Regions from separate parts of the Homo sapiens genome. Here region 1 is linked to region 2. The links are contacts of gene promoters, found by promoter capture Hi-C in human tissues and cell types (Jung and others, 2019). All regions are on one chromosome and are shown on one strand. The core of a region is centred on a gene start or on the middle of the fragment in contact, and the rest is flanking DNA. Distances in the headings are between cores, read along the strand shown. Region 1 holds the start of ATP2A1 (ATPase sarcoplasmic/endoplasmic reticulum Ca2+ transporting 1). Region 2 holds the start of PAGR1 (PAXIP1 associated glutamate rich protein 1).

What was found. Contacts are between HindIII fragments. The study calls those that stand out against the background at their distance.
Region 1: the fragment with the promoter of ATP2A1 here is called in contact with the fragment with the promoter of PAGR1 in region 2 in 1 of the 25 tissues and cell types used here (dorsolateral prefrontal cortex).

Annotation. Positions count from the first base shown.
Region 1 is chr16:28,875,085-28,881,588 of GRCh38, forward strand. ATP2A1 (ATPase sarcoplasmic/endoplasmic reticulum Ca2+ transporting 1) reads left to right here and starts at 3,404. Exons shown (of 23, transcript NM_004320.6): 1 at 3,404-3,705; 2 at 4,015-4,032; 3 at 4,417-4,499; 4 at 5,831-5,935. The coding sequence starts at 3,588. It overlaps ATP2A1-AS1 (ATP2A1 antisense RNA 1), which reads right to left and starts at 4,837. Exons shown (of 2, transcript NR_046290.1): 1 at 4,458-4,837; 2 at 3,873-4,020. RefSeq lists enhancers at 2,375-2,444, 2,455-2,544, 3,790-4,563 and silencers at 4,634-4,683, 4,704-5,053. The HindIII fragment of the contact is 3,605 bases long and covers 2,675-6,279 here.
Region 2 is chr16:29,814,866-29,821,410 of GRCh38, forward strand. It overlaps PAGR1 (PAXIP1 associated glutamate rich protein 1), which reads left to right and starts at 1,287. Exons shown (of 3, transcript NM_024516.4): 1 at 1,287-2,142; 2 at 2,345-2,427; 3 at 4,690-6,545. The coding sequence starts at 1,661. The coding sequence ends at 4,889. PRRT2 (proline rich transmembrane protein 2) reads left to right here. Exons shown (of 4, transcript NM_145239.3): 4 at 1-1,016. It overlaps MVP-DT (MVP divergent transcript), which reads right to left and starts at 5,502. Exons shown (of 4, transcript NR_186424.1): 1 at 5,319-5,502; 2 at 4,675-4,736. MVP (major vault protein) reads left to right here and starts at 5,597. Exons shown (of 15, transcript NM_005115.5): 1 at 5,597-5,645. RefSeq lists enhancers at 1-626, 519-738, 989-1,238, 5,241-5,310, 6,002-6,545 and 1 more and a silencer at 1,429-1,598. The HindIII fragment of the contact is 8,731 bases long and covers 1-6,545 here.

The sequences.
Region 1 (6,504 bases), core at 2,154-4,653, 940 kb before region 2:
AAAAAAAAAAAAAAAAAAATCACTGGCTTCTCTTAAAAATCAGAAGATCCAGTGATGTGGGTCCACTTCCACATCTGCCCCATCCCCACCAGCTCACTTTGCTCCCTGGGAGGGCCTGGCCCTGTGGGCATTTGAGTTTATAACACCACCCCCATTGTGGCACACCCCTCCACCCCGTAAAACACAGGCTCTGCTCTTGGAATCAGTCTTCCTGATCTGTGGCTGTGCCCTCCAACAGAGGGCACCCCTGGGCTTCCCAGCTCTGGGGGTAGTGGGTGCCAACAAGGAGGGGCCTGGGGCTGAAGAATCCCACCCGCTGAGCTCGGCCTTCTCCCTTCCCCACTGTCCAGCTCCGCCTTTCAGCATCCTGCCTCACTCCCCGCCCAGGCAGCAAGGAGCCCACACCCTCATGCCCCTCAGCTTCAGCCCCCACCTCCAGGAGGCCCTACCCACGCTCATGACCTTGCTATTCTGGGCCTTGTGTCCTGTAGGGAGATGGACAGGAGACAGCTGGGCTTCCAGGCCACCCAGGCGGGGGGCTAGCCGAGGGAAGCCTGCTGGCTCTCCTGCTTGCTCTAATTTCTGGGGCTCCCCAAACCTTGGCCTCAGGAGACTGGGGATAGGACCGGCCTTGAAAGTGGGGGAAGCTTTGGAGAGCCGGGTGCTGGGTTCTTAGTGAGATGGCCAGTGAAGGCTGTGGTGCCCCGAGGTAAGCAGGGCCTGATCCCCTCCTAATCTTCCAGCAGCAACTGGTGCTCTGAGGCTCCCCCTCCCCCAGCCCTGCCAGCCTTCAGGGACCTGCCTTCCAAAGATGGGCAGGGGAGGGGGACGAGGACACCCACCCACTCCTCAGACCAGCATGTCTTGGCTGTTGGGGCCTGAGAGACTTTCCCTCTAAGCCTTTCTTTACAGATGGTTAAACCGAAGTTCTGCACTCATCAGGGACTGGCCAGGGTGTCTCTGTGTCCCATGCTTTTAGCTCCAGCCCTCAGGTGTGACAGGAGGATCACTTTCCATCCCTGGGCGTGGAGACCCCTGTGGGAAGGGATCCCCGAGGGCGCCTCTGGCTCAGCCTCCCTCCATGGCAGTTCACACCCACAGCCTTCCCTAGAGCAGCCCTTCTGCAGCTCCTGGCGGGTGGCTTTCCCTCCCTGGCTTGTTTCCCCCTCTGGGAAGCCGGGGGAGGTAGAAATGAATAACCTTAAAGGCCTGTTGGCAGGAATGTGCTGCCAAGCCTGCCCCCTGCCCTCTGTCTCAGGCTCTCGACTCCCTCGAAGCTGCCCATCTCTCCGTCTGCCCCTCTCCATGTTTGGGCATTCCCACTGCTGTAAGACAGTAGCCCCTGTCACTCCTCCAGGTGCCGGTGGGGAGACGCCGGCCAGCGCCAAAAGCCTTGGCGGGTGTGAGCCTGAGTCCAGCGGAGACGGTGGGTGCTGGGCCGGGTGGAGGTGCCGGGGGCTGTGTCTCTTGGAAGAGAGGCTGCTAATGCTCTCCTGCACCCCCAATTCAGCCCACTGTCCCCCACTCCCCTCAGGTCACAGCAGGATTCTGCTTCAGGGGAGGGGTTTGTTGGAACTGTGAAAAGGAGGCAGGAAGGAGCACCTTGTCCTCAACTCACCCAGGAGGCCGCGCCTCACCCAAGTCCAGGCAGAAGGGATGCATCTGGGAGGCTGAACCCTCAAGTTCCATCCACCCCTGCTGCCATCCCCCTCCCCAAAAGTGGGGGCCTCCCTTTTCTTTGCTCTGCTGTCTCCTATTCTGTCCTCTGCTTCGGAGTTTGAGCCCCAGAATGGAAAGCAGCCTTAAGAAGCCACACTTAGGAAGTCCACATGCCTCTGCTCATTTCAGGAAACAGGCCTAGACAGAGGACGGACTTGAGCCCAGGGCACCAGGCCCCTTCCCCTCACTGACCTTTCACCCTGACTCTCATCCAGCCTTTCTGCCTGCCTGTCCTCCCCTTCCTGCACCCCTGGTACCCTCCCTCGGCTCCTCCAGCAGCTGCCCTGGTGGTAACCAAGAGACGCCCCCATCCTGGAGCAGGGGTGGGGAGGGGCAGCTCAGAGCAGCTGCTTCTCTGAGGAAGCTGACACCAAGGCCAGCATTCAGCAACAACTTGTGGCTTTGCACCCAGCGCCGGGGTCCCCGCCCACCTGGCTCCCTGCTGTCCCTCTTCCCCACTGCTGCTCGGACTTCCCTCTGACCCTGGTGGCTCTGTGTCTCTGCTCCCTTTCCCCCTAGGTCTAGACATCTGTCCTTATTTCCCCCAGACCTGTCCCCAGAAGTCCACCCTTCCCCATTCCTTTGGTCTGGAGCCCCTGCTTGGTCCAGCTTCCCCAGGCCCCGACACCTTTCTGTGGGGTCTGCCTAGCTCCTGCACGCACACAGCATGGGCCTGATCCTGTTCCCCTCGTGGACAGATGCAGCAGGGCAGAGTGCAGCGCAGACCACAGGCCTCTGGGGCTGGCCACAGAAACCCCGTTGGTTAGAGCACAGTGTGGGATGAGGTGACCCTCAGTGCACGACTTGGGGTGACCCCTGCCCCCATCCTGAGACAGTTACCCCTCCCCCTCTGCCATCAGCACATTCTGTAGCCTCTTGGGTTACTTGGCTGCCTTGGTGTCCCATTTTCTTGGGGGTGGGGTGGGGATTCCCTATCCAGGATGGGGGGGCCCTCAGGGCTCTGTTCCCAGAGGCTGAGTTAGAGCGATGGGGAAGGGGGGGGGCAGTTTTGGGGAGAGACAGGCAGTGCTGGCTTTGCTCACCAGGGCCTGGACACTAAATCCCTTGTTGATGGCTGTGGCAACCCCTCCCTAGGGTAGGGTTACCATCTTCGGCCCTGTCCCCTTGACTCTCTCCCCTCACTTCCCCTTGTCCCTCTAGGAGCCACTCACTTCCTCTAGCCCCCAAAAGATGTTCTCCCTTCATCAGTCCCCCAAAGGCTTGGGGTATCTCTGCCACTGCTTCAGCAAATGGGGTGAGGAGGAAGGAGACTGCGGCAATGGAAACAGGCTCCGGGCAGATGAGGCAGGAAGGGGGGTGTGAGGAAAGGGACAGGTGAGGCCGGGGATGGAAGAGGGCTCCGGGAAGAACTGGGGGGATGAGTTTGGAATGGGAAATTCAATGCAGCTGGGGAAGTCGAGGCAATGGGGGGGCAGGGTCAGTAGCAGATGACAGAAAGTGAAGTCTCTCCCTACCCCACTTCCCTGGGGCTGGGGCTACCTTTGCGTCCCTCATGAGTGACATCTCAGGCTGCAGCCCCACTGTTCCCCCTCTGTCAGCAGAAATATCTCTCTTTTCTGACCACCTCCTGCTGGAGTCTCAGCCAGCCAATCCCTGATCTGGTGGAGGGGGGAGCCCGGCCTCCCCCTGCTCCCTCATAAGGACCAGCTGGGGGCCGGGGGGTGGCCGGCTGCTCAAGTGGGACGGGGGTCAGAGCTTTGTGGAGGGAAGAAAAACCTGGAGGGGGCAGGAGAGTAAAAAGAAGAAACCCAGGCAGACAGGCAGTTGGACACACTGAGGAAGACCCCCCACGAGTGGGAACCCCCTGGAAGGAACACACCGGCCCCGGCCCCCAGGAAGGGAGCACAATGGAGGCCGCTCATGCTAAAACCACGGAGGAATGTTTGGCCTATTTTGGGGTGAGTGAGACCACGGGCCTCACCCCGGACCAAGTTAAGCGGAATCTGGAGAAATACGGCCTCAATGGTAAGTGTCCCTTGGAAGAGCGGCTGGTAATTAATGCCCTCCTGCACCCCCAAAACACACGCACACGCATGCACGCGTTTCTCCCTTCAGGGTTTCTTAAGGAAGAGCTGGGCCGTTGTCCAATGCTCGCAGGGGGAAGAAGATACTGAGAAAACAGAGTCCCGAGATCCAGAGTTTTGGGAGGTTTTAATGGGATGAACTTGATGAACCTCAAGGTGGCCTGATTCTCTTAGCCACAAAGTCTTGGGTGTGGGGGGCATGAGGCTGAACCCCAAATGAATCTGTCCTTTTCTTCTTTTTCCTGGGTAGAGCTCCCTGCTGAGGAAGGTAAGTTACTGGAATCCCTGAACTCTCATAAATGACCACCCCCCACCCCGCCCTGTCCCACTCCCTCCTCCCTGCCTCTTTAGATTCTTTGAGCAAATATCCCTTCCCAAAAGGCAAATCTCCCTCCCTAAAGGTTAGAGTCCTGTCCGGGGCAGAAGTCTCCCAGGCGCTTTCTCCTTGAAGCAGCCAACCCTTGAACTGCCCCCCACTTTGCCGAGTCTGTTTCTGGACTCCAGGCGAGCTTCTTAGCCCTTCTCTGGGCACCAAGCTGTCTGCCCACCACCCTAGAGCCTCCCCACTGCAGGCCGGAGTCCAGGGCGCTCCATCCCAGACCTTCACCCACTAGACCTTAACCCGGGGCCCTCCCCTTGCCTCCTCCCCCAGGGAAGACCCTGTGGGAGCTGGTGATAGAGCAGTTTGAAGACCTCCTGGTGCGGATTCTCCTCCTGGCCGCATGCATTTCCTTCGTAAGTGTGGGAGGGTCTCTGGGGGCTGGCTGGGGGTGTGAGGCTGGGATCGGGCGAATGCGGGGCTCGCAGTCACTGGATCCTCCCGTCCGAGTCCCGAGCATCCCATTGTACAGACGGGGCGGGCTGGCGCGCAGCAGCGGGTGTGATTCGCGTCCTCCTCTCTCCTCCCCTGCACCCCAGAGGCAGGTTTTATTTTAAGCTTTAAGGGTGTTCTCAGCCAAAACACCGAAGCTAAGCCACCCTCGCGGCTTCAAGAGCTTGGAGAGCTCGGGTTACCCACCCGAACTCCGGGCTCCGGGTCCCGCCGCGATGCCGGCTGCGGCGCGGGGGGCCACTGCCACTCCCGGCATGCGCCGGGCGGACGGCCGCTCCACCAATCCCCGCGCCCGTCGGCGCCCCTGCCCCGCCCTCCCCAGCCTCCTGACGCTGATTGGTCGAGGGGAGGACTCGCTCCTAGTGGCGGGAAAGCGCGGCGGTGTGATGATGACTCCAAGGAGCCCGGCGCCCGGTCAGGGAGGGCACTGGCATCCCTCATTACCCGCCCAGCCTGGCCTTAGCCCTTCCCCGCGCTCCCTAGGCACCCCCACCCCCGCAGGGCATCTCCAGGGCTCTGCCTCCTCTCCCGCCCTGGGGGCTACTCCCCATCCCGCGGTCCATCTGCATGTCGCGGGTTCTTCCGCAGCATGTGAGCCTCGCTGGGGACTCTGGAGGCAACGAAAGCCTCCCTGTGCCTTGGTCTCCGAACGCAGGCCCCGTCGCGTTAAGCACAAGCTGGCAGGGCCTCTCCTCTCCCTTCTCAGATTTGCTCCTTGACATTTGCCTGCTGCCTGGCGGTGGCAACAGCTGGGGCGGGGCGCGCGCAGGAGGCCCCGTAACCCTATCCCCGCTCCGGCTCCCTCGTGAAACCGGAGCTTCCCTGCCTTGGCCGAGGGGGAGGGCTGCGGGGGCCAGACCGCCTGCGAAGACCACAGGGTTTTTCCTCTCGGGTTTTGGCTCCCGTGGGATGGATGTGGCTGTGCGGGGGGTTGGCCTGAGCTTCGCTTCTAAGCCAGCAGCTTGGTCAGGGAAACCTGAAAGCATTCCCAGCTAATCCCCCAAGTGGTGCAAGTCTGTGCGCGCCCATCCCGCTGAGTAAGGCGGTGGCAGGACCTGCAGTGGATGGACAGACCCTCAGACGGATGTGGGGCCACAGCGCCCCGACGGTGCCCGGCCCTCCTGCTGGCTCCTGCACTCTCCTGCACAGTTCTCCCCTTTGCAGTGGTCCACTTCCTTTCTCCATCTGTTTTGGGGCCTCATTACCTGTCATTCTCCTTTCCCCTGCTCCCCAGGTGCTGGCCTGGTTTGAGGAAGGTGAAGAGACCATCACTGCCTTTGTTGAACCCTTTGTCATCCTCTTGATCCTCATTGCCAATGCCATCGTGGGGGTTTGGCAGGTTAGCGTTGACCCTTCCTTACCCCTTCATGTCCCAACAGTGAAGAAGAGGCCAACCCTCCCTCCAGTCTCCTCCTCCTCCATCACCTCCCCCATACTTGCCTCTTCCTCTGGTCCTATCCCCTGGTCTGGAATGGGATGGAGTGTGGGGAAGAGGTGGGAGACTGTGACCCACTGTCACTTCCTGGCTATGTGACCCTGAGCAAGTTCCTTCATCCCTCTGAGCCTCAGTTTCTTCATCCATAAAATGGGGCTAGCAATCCAGTGTGAAATCGACTAAGATGATGCATGTTCCTGGCACACAGTAGGAATTCAATAGACGCTAGCTTGATTTCCTTCTTCCACTGACCTGACCACCCCCTACATGTCCTGTCCTCTGCTTCCTGGTTTGTTTTGTTTTGTTTTGTTTTTAGGTCATTTCCAAAGTGAAAACCCAAATGCTACCTTGCTTTGGTTTTAAGAAATGTCAGGCTATAAGCCATTTTTTGGTGCTCACTGGTTTCTGAACACTGAGGATAGAAATAGCCACTTTCATACTTTGGGAGGCCGAGGCGGGTGGATCAGTTGAGG
Region 2 (6,545 bases), core at 37-2,536:
ATGCCTGCATCCCCTCCGGCCTCTTGGCCCCCTATCCCTGCACTTCTGGAAACCTCCCTGCACTCTGGAAACCTCCCTGAACACCTCCCCAACTCTGCGCTCTCAGCCTCCCTGCATCTCTCCTGGCCTCCCTGCACTTCTTCCAGCCCCCCAAATTCTCTGGACCTCCACCCTGGCCGCCTCCTCCCAACTTTCATTGTCTTGGCATCTCTCAACCCTCAGTCCTCTCTTCCTTCCCTTCTTTATCATCTCCCCTTTCCTCTCCACGTCCCGCCCCCTTCCTCTTCCTGCCTCCTCATCTCCCTTAAGCATCCTCTTCTCCAACCTCCCGTCACCGTTTACTCTGCAAAATTGACAGCACTTAGACGAGGCTTGGGGGCAGGGAGCAGTGTTGGGAGAGGGCTCCCCAACCCCAGGCTCGGACTGTTCTCTGCTGGGACCACCCAGGGTCGGACACCCAAGGGTGCCTGGCAGGTCGCAGAGTTGGCAAGCCGGGCCTCGTATGGGGACTCGGGTGAGGGTGGCGAGTACTGGTTCCGAACGCACGCAGGGGAGAAGGGAGGGACGCGGCGCTGACCCTTCCAGGTCAGCTGGAGTTGACCCGCCCACCTGGGCTTTTCAACCCCAGTCCGCGAGTTTCTTTCTTGAAGGTGTGGGGGCTAGATTCATTCACGTGCTTCGTAATGAAATAATCCAAAAAATAGGACCAAAGCGCCCACTGGCAGGAGCGAGGGCGGGGCGCCGCGCTCTATAATTATTTTCTAAGATGATGGGGGAGGTTTGTTGCACGCGACAGCCCGCTGAGGAGGCGGGGACCGAGCTACAACGCGGTTCGGATTTGGCGGGGGTTTTTTTCCTTAAAAAAAAAAAAAAAAAAAAAAAAAAAGTCTGGGGGAAGAAAAAAACTAAAATTCTTAAAAAAAAAAAAAAAAGGCTATTATCAAACTGATTTCTCCCTTTTTGTATGCCGGATGCTGCATGAGTCTGAAACACCAATAAACGGAGACTGCATGAGACTCGCCTCCAATCTCGGTTGGTTCCTGCGTTCGTCCCGCCGGCCCGGCGGTGCTGCCTTTCTGGCAGAACCTTACTGGGTGGTATACGCATGCGACTTCCCGGTGGCCATCTTTACTGTGGGCTGAAGCCTGTGCGCTTACTCGCGCATGTGCAAGCCTTCCCTCGCTTTCCTCTTCCAAGTAGCCTTGCCTAGAGCGGAGCCTCCCGCGCCATTTCTGTGCGCCTGCGTAGCGTGACCCTGCGCAGCCTGGGAGGCGGGTCTTAGCTCCAGGTGCGTACGGCATCTGACTTGACGTGGCCCACAACTGAAAGGTCTGGGGAGAAGGCGCCGTGTCCGGGTGTGGAGAGGGGCGTCGTGGAAGCGAGAAGAGTGGCCCGTCCCTCTCCTCCCCCTTTCCCTCTTTCGGAAAGTGGTTTCTGCGGGGCCCGGGAGCCTCGGAGTACCGAACCTCGATCTCCGGGGCGGGGTCCTTGGTGGGGACTGAGCGCCCCCTCCCGGGGACGGGCGGTCTGGCCGCGGAGTCCCCTGCGGGAGCGTGATTGGCTGGAAACGGTCCCGAACCCCCAGGGGAGCCCGATCCCTGGGGGACCCTGGCTTCGGACTCCAGTATCTGTCGTCGCAGGGTCCCTGCCCTAGTGGCCTATGTCCCTTGCTCGGGGCCATGGAGACACTGCGGCCAGTACGGCGGCGCCTCTGTCTGAAGAAGGGGAAGTGACCTCCGGCCTCCAGGCTCTGGCCGTGGAGGATACCGGAGGCCCCTCTGCCTCGGCCGGTAAGGCCGAGGACGAGGGGGAAGGAGGCCGAGAGGAGACCGAGCGTGAGGGGTCCGGGGGCGAGGAGGCGCAGGGAGAAGTCCCCAGCGCTGGGGGAGAAGAGCCTGCCGAGGAGGACTCCGAGGACTGGTGCGTGCCCTGCAGCGACGAGGAGGTGGAGCTGCCTGCGGATGGGCAGCCCTGGATGCCCCCGCCCTCCGAAATCCAGCGGCTCTATGAACTGCTGGCTGCCCACGGTACTCTGGAGCTGCAAGCCGAGATCCTGCCCCGCCGGCCTCCCACGCCGGAGGCCCAGAGCGAAGAGGAGAGATCCGATGAGGAGCCGGAGGCCAAAGAAGAGGAAGAGGAAAAGTAAAGGCACACCCTTACACCTTGTCCCGGGGCTGCTCCCCTGATGGCGGGAGGAAATAGGGAGGGGAAAATGTGGGACGCTGGAACCTTTGAAAGTGGAGGGAGGGAAGCCAGCGGGGGAGGAGGAACGGGCAGGGGAGAAGCACACGTGTGGGTGGGAGGGAGGACCGCCCTCACCCTTAACTATGTTCACCTGTCCCAGACCACACATGCCCACGGAATTTGATTTTGATGATGAGCCAGTGACACCAAAGGACTCCCTGATTGACCGGAGACGCACCCCAGGTACAAACGAAGAGGAAACAGTTGGGGGAGGTGAAGGGCCTCGGCTCAGTTACCCAAGATCGGCTCCCCTAGAGGCCTTTGCTTGCTGCCTCAGCTCCCACACAACTTACAGCTGCAGGAGAGAGTATTCACCCAGTAGCACCATCTTTATGACTTAGATTACTACCTTGTCTTCCTTTTTTTTTTTTTTTTTTTTTTGAGATGGAGTCTTGCCCTTGTCCCCCAGGCTGGAGTGCAATGGCACGATCTCAACTCACTGCAACCTCCGCCTCCTGGGTTCAAGCAATTCTCCTGCCTCAGCCTCCCAAGTAGCTGGGATTACAGACGCATGCCACCACTCTGGGCCAATTTTTGTATTTTTAGTAGAGACAGGCTTTCACCATGTTGGCCAGGCTGGTCTTGAATTCCTGACCTTGTGATCCGCCCACCTCAGCCTCCCAAAGTGCTAGGATTGCAGGCATGAGCCAATGCGCCTGGCCCCTTGTCTTCCTTTAAGAGACAATTATAATACAAAAAATTAGCCGGGCATAGTGGCGGGCACCTGTAGTCCCAGCTACTCAGGAGGCTGAGGCAGGAGAATCGCTTGAGCCTGGGAGGTGGAGGTTGCAGTGACCTGAGATCACACCACTGCACTCCAGCCTGGGCGAGAGAGTGAGACTCCGTCTCAAAAAACACAATTACAGATAATTCTTTTTTTAAAAAAACAACTAGTCATTGATTCTGGAAAATTACAGATAATTCTATCATGTTTCCCATTCCCAGAAGTCCAAGTCCTGGCCTTTCAATATTATCTAGATCTGCATCCCTCTACTACCATGTACATTCTTTAATCACACCGCTGGCCCCATTTCCCACCCCACATGCCTTCCTAGAATTTACCCTCAGAGTCATGCCTTTCCTTTTTTCTTTTTTTTGAGGGGTGGAGAGACAGAGTCTTGCTGTGTTGCCCAGACTGGTTGGTCTCGAACTCTTGAGCTCAAGTGATCCATCCGCCTCGGTTCTCAAAGTGCTGAGATTACAGGCATGAGTCACTGCACCCAGCCTAGAGCCATTCTTGATTTCTCTCTCTTTTACCTGAACATTCACACCAGCAGCAAGTCTTGGTAGCTATAAGATGTACATTTCCAAGTACCTCTGCTAGTCTCCACTTTCAATACCACATCCCCATCCAAGCCACTGTCTTTCTTGCCTGGATAGTTGTAGTAGCTCCTAACTGGGCTCTCTGCTTCCAGCTTCTGCAATTCAGATGAACCTTTTAAAACATAAATCATATCACTTTTTTTTTCTTTGAGACGAAGTCTTTCTCTTGCTCAGGCTGGAGTGCAGTGGCATGATCTTGGCTCACTGCAATCTCCACCTCCTGGGTTGAAGCGATTCTCCTACCTCAGTCTCCTGAGTAGCTGGGATTACAAGGACACGTCACCACGCCTAGCTAATTTTTGTATTTTCTAGTAGAGAGGGGGTTTCGCCATGTTGGCGAGGCTGGTCTTGAACTCCTGACCTAAAGCTTCCCAAAGTGCCTGCCTCAGCTTCCCAAAGTGCTGGAATTACAGGCGTGAGCTGCTGCACTCAGCCATAAATCGTGTCACTTTTCCACTTAAAATTTTCCAAGGGATTCCATCTTGCCAGGGAAGAGCATGTCAAAGGAGAATCCAAGCGCTTTTCCCGCCACCTCCAGTTCTCTGCACTCTTTTTTTTGTTTTTGTTTTTGGCGAGTAGGGGAGACGGAGTGTAGCTGTGTCACCGAGGCTGGAGTGCAGTAGTGCGATCTTGGCTCATTGCAACCTCCACCTCCCGGGTTCAAGCGATTCTTCTGCCTCAGCCTCCCAAGTAGCTGGGATTACAGGCGCCCACCACCACGCCCAGCTAATTTTTTGTGTTGGCCAGGCTGGTCTCAAACTCCTGACCTCGTGAGTTGCCCACCTCAGCCTCCCAAAGTGCTGGCATTACAAGCGTGAACCACCATGCCCGGCCTGCACTCTTCTTTGAACAGAACTCTGTTCTTGTCCTGGGGCCTCTACCCTTGCCATTCCCCTGCCCAGTATGTTCCTCCCTGTTCTTCACATTACCTGTGCCTTCCTGTCAATCAAGATCTTTGCTTCTCACCCTCTCTGAGGTCCAACCCTGAACCTCAGGTCCTCCAAGACAGAGGCCTGGGGACCTGCATGTTTAACCAGCTCCCCAAGTGATGAGTGAGGTCCAGGCAGGTATGGTGTACACCACCTCCATCCCTTCCATGTATCTTACCTTCCTCTTCTCCAGGAAGCTCAGCCCGGAGCCAGAAACGGGAGGCCCGCCTGGACAAGGTGCTGTCGGACATGAAGAGACACAAGAAGCTGGAGGAGCAGATCCTTCGTACCGGGAGGGACCTCTTCAGCCTGGACTCGGAGGACCCCAGCCCCGCCAGCCCCCCACTCCGATCCTCCGGGAGTAGTCTCTTCCCTCGGCAGCGGAAATACTGATTCCCACTGCTCCTGCCTCTAGGGTGCAGTGTCCGTACCTGCTGGAGCCTGGGCCCTCCTTCCCCAGCCCAGACATTGAGAAACTTGGGAAGAAGAGAGAAACCTCAAGCTCCCAAACAGCACGTTGCGGGAAAGAGGAAGAGAGAGTGTGAGTGTGTGTGTGTGTTTTTTCTATTGAACACCTGTAGAGTGTGTGTGTGTGTTTTCTATTGAACACCTATAGAGAGAGTGTGTGTGTTTTCTATTGAACATCTATATAGAGAGAGTGTGTGAGTGTGTGTTTTCTATTGAACACCTATTCAGAGACCTGGACTGAATTTTCTGAGTCTGAAATAAAAGATGCAGAGCTATCATCTCTTAAAAGGAGGGGCTGTAGCTGTAGCTCAACAGTTAGGCCCCACTTGAAGGGAGAGGCAGAATTGTACTCACCCAGATTGGAAAATGAAAGCCAGATGGGTAGAGGTGCCCTCAGTTAGCACCTGTCCCATCTCGGGCCCTCCAACTCCTCCCAGTCCCACTCCAGTGCAGCCAGCTGGCTCCAAGGTAGAAACCCATGAGCACTCAGGGAGCAGTGTGCCTTCAGCTGCAGCAGAAGCAGCCCGGAGGATAAAATGAGAACCAGCTGCACACGGGCCCTTTAACTCCCAAGCCCCACCCCTGGGCTTGGCCTGCCTTGCCCTGCCGGGAAGTGATCCCCAAGGCAGGGTGAGAGTTCCCCATCTGAGGCGTTTGTTGCAGCTACCTGCACTTCTAGATGTGAGTACATTGTACTAGCCCCCCAAACCCCAAATCAGGGGCAGATCTTTGTATCCCTTGAGGCTCTCTTTAGTCCTGTCTTGCTTTGAAGGGCCTTGCTTCTGCTGGGGCAGGGAAAACATGTCTGAATCAGAGTGGGGAAGGAGGATGGGTGGTGGCTTTGCTTTTGGAGGTTTCACTTTCCAATAGTTGGGAGTCTTCTGGGTTTTGAAGTAAAGGCAGATTAACACCAACACCGGTCCCCCACCCCCCTGCAACTCTCAGGCCTCTCTCTGACTTCAGGGTCCCACCTGGGAAATCAGGTGGGGAACCTTACAGGGTCATTCAGACCCCATCTTAGCCCTAGATCGGTGCTTGCTCTACTCACCTGCACTGTCCTGGGGACCTGGGCTCTGGCCTGTCACCTTGAGCTCCAAGAATGTGACCTGTACCCATTCAGGCCCCTTAACTCTGACAGATGAGGGTTTCTTACTCCTCCATGCAGGGCTGGGCCAGCTGTTGGTCTCAGTCGATCATTCAGGAAGTCATTAGCAGAGTGATTTCCAGAAGGCGTAGAATTTAGTGACCAAGGTTCTTTCCTTTTTGGGAGGAGAAAGTGAAAACTAGGATGCTCAGCTGGACCCACCAGCCTGAGATTCTGGGGATTTTAGAGCTGTCCCTTGGGGAGCCAAGCACTTGGGGGTGGAGGTGATAGCGAGGCTGATGGCCCCTGTGTTCTCAGCTCTCTGCCTGGGTAGCCCCTGGGTGATGGGGGAGAGGCCAGCTGTCACGTGGGGTATCAGGTGGCTCTGCCAGAAACTCCCTTGGCACACAGAGCACTGGGTCGGCCCTCGGGTGTGGCTGTTTGGGCAGGACAGCCCTCTGTATGTAGCCTTGAGCAGGTAGGGGGGCCACCTTGAG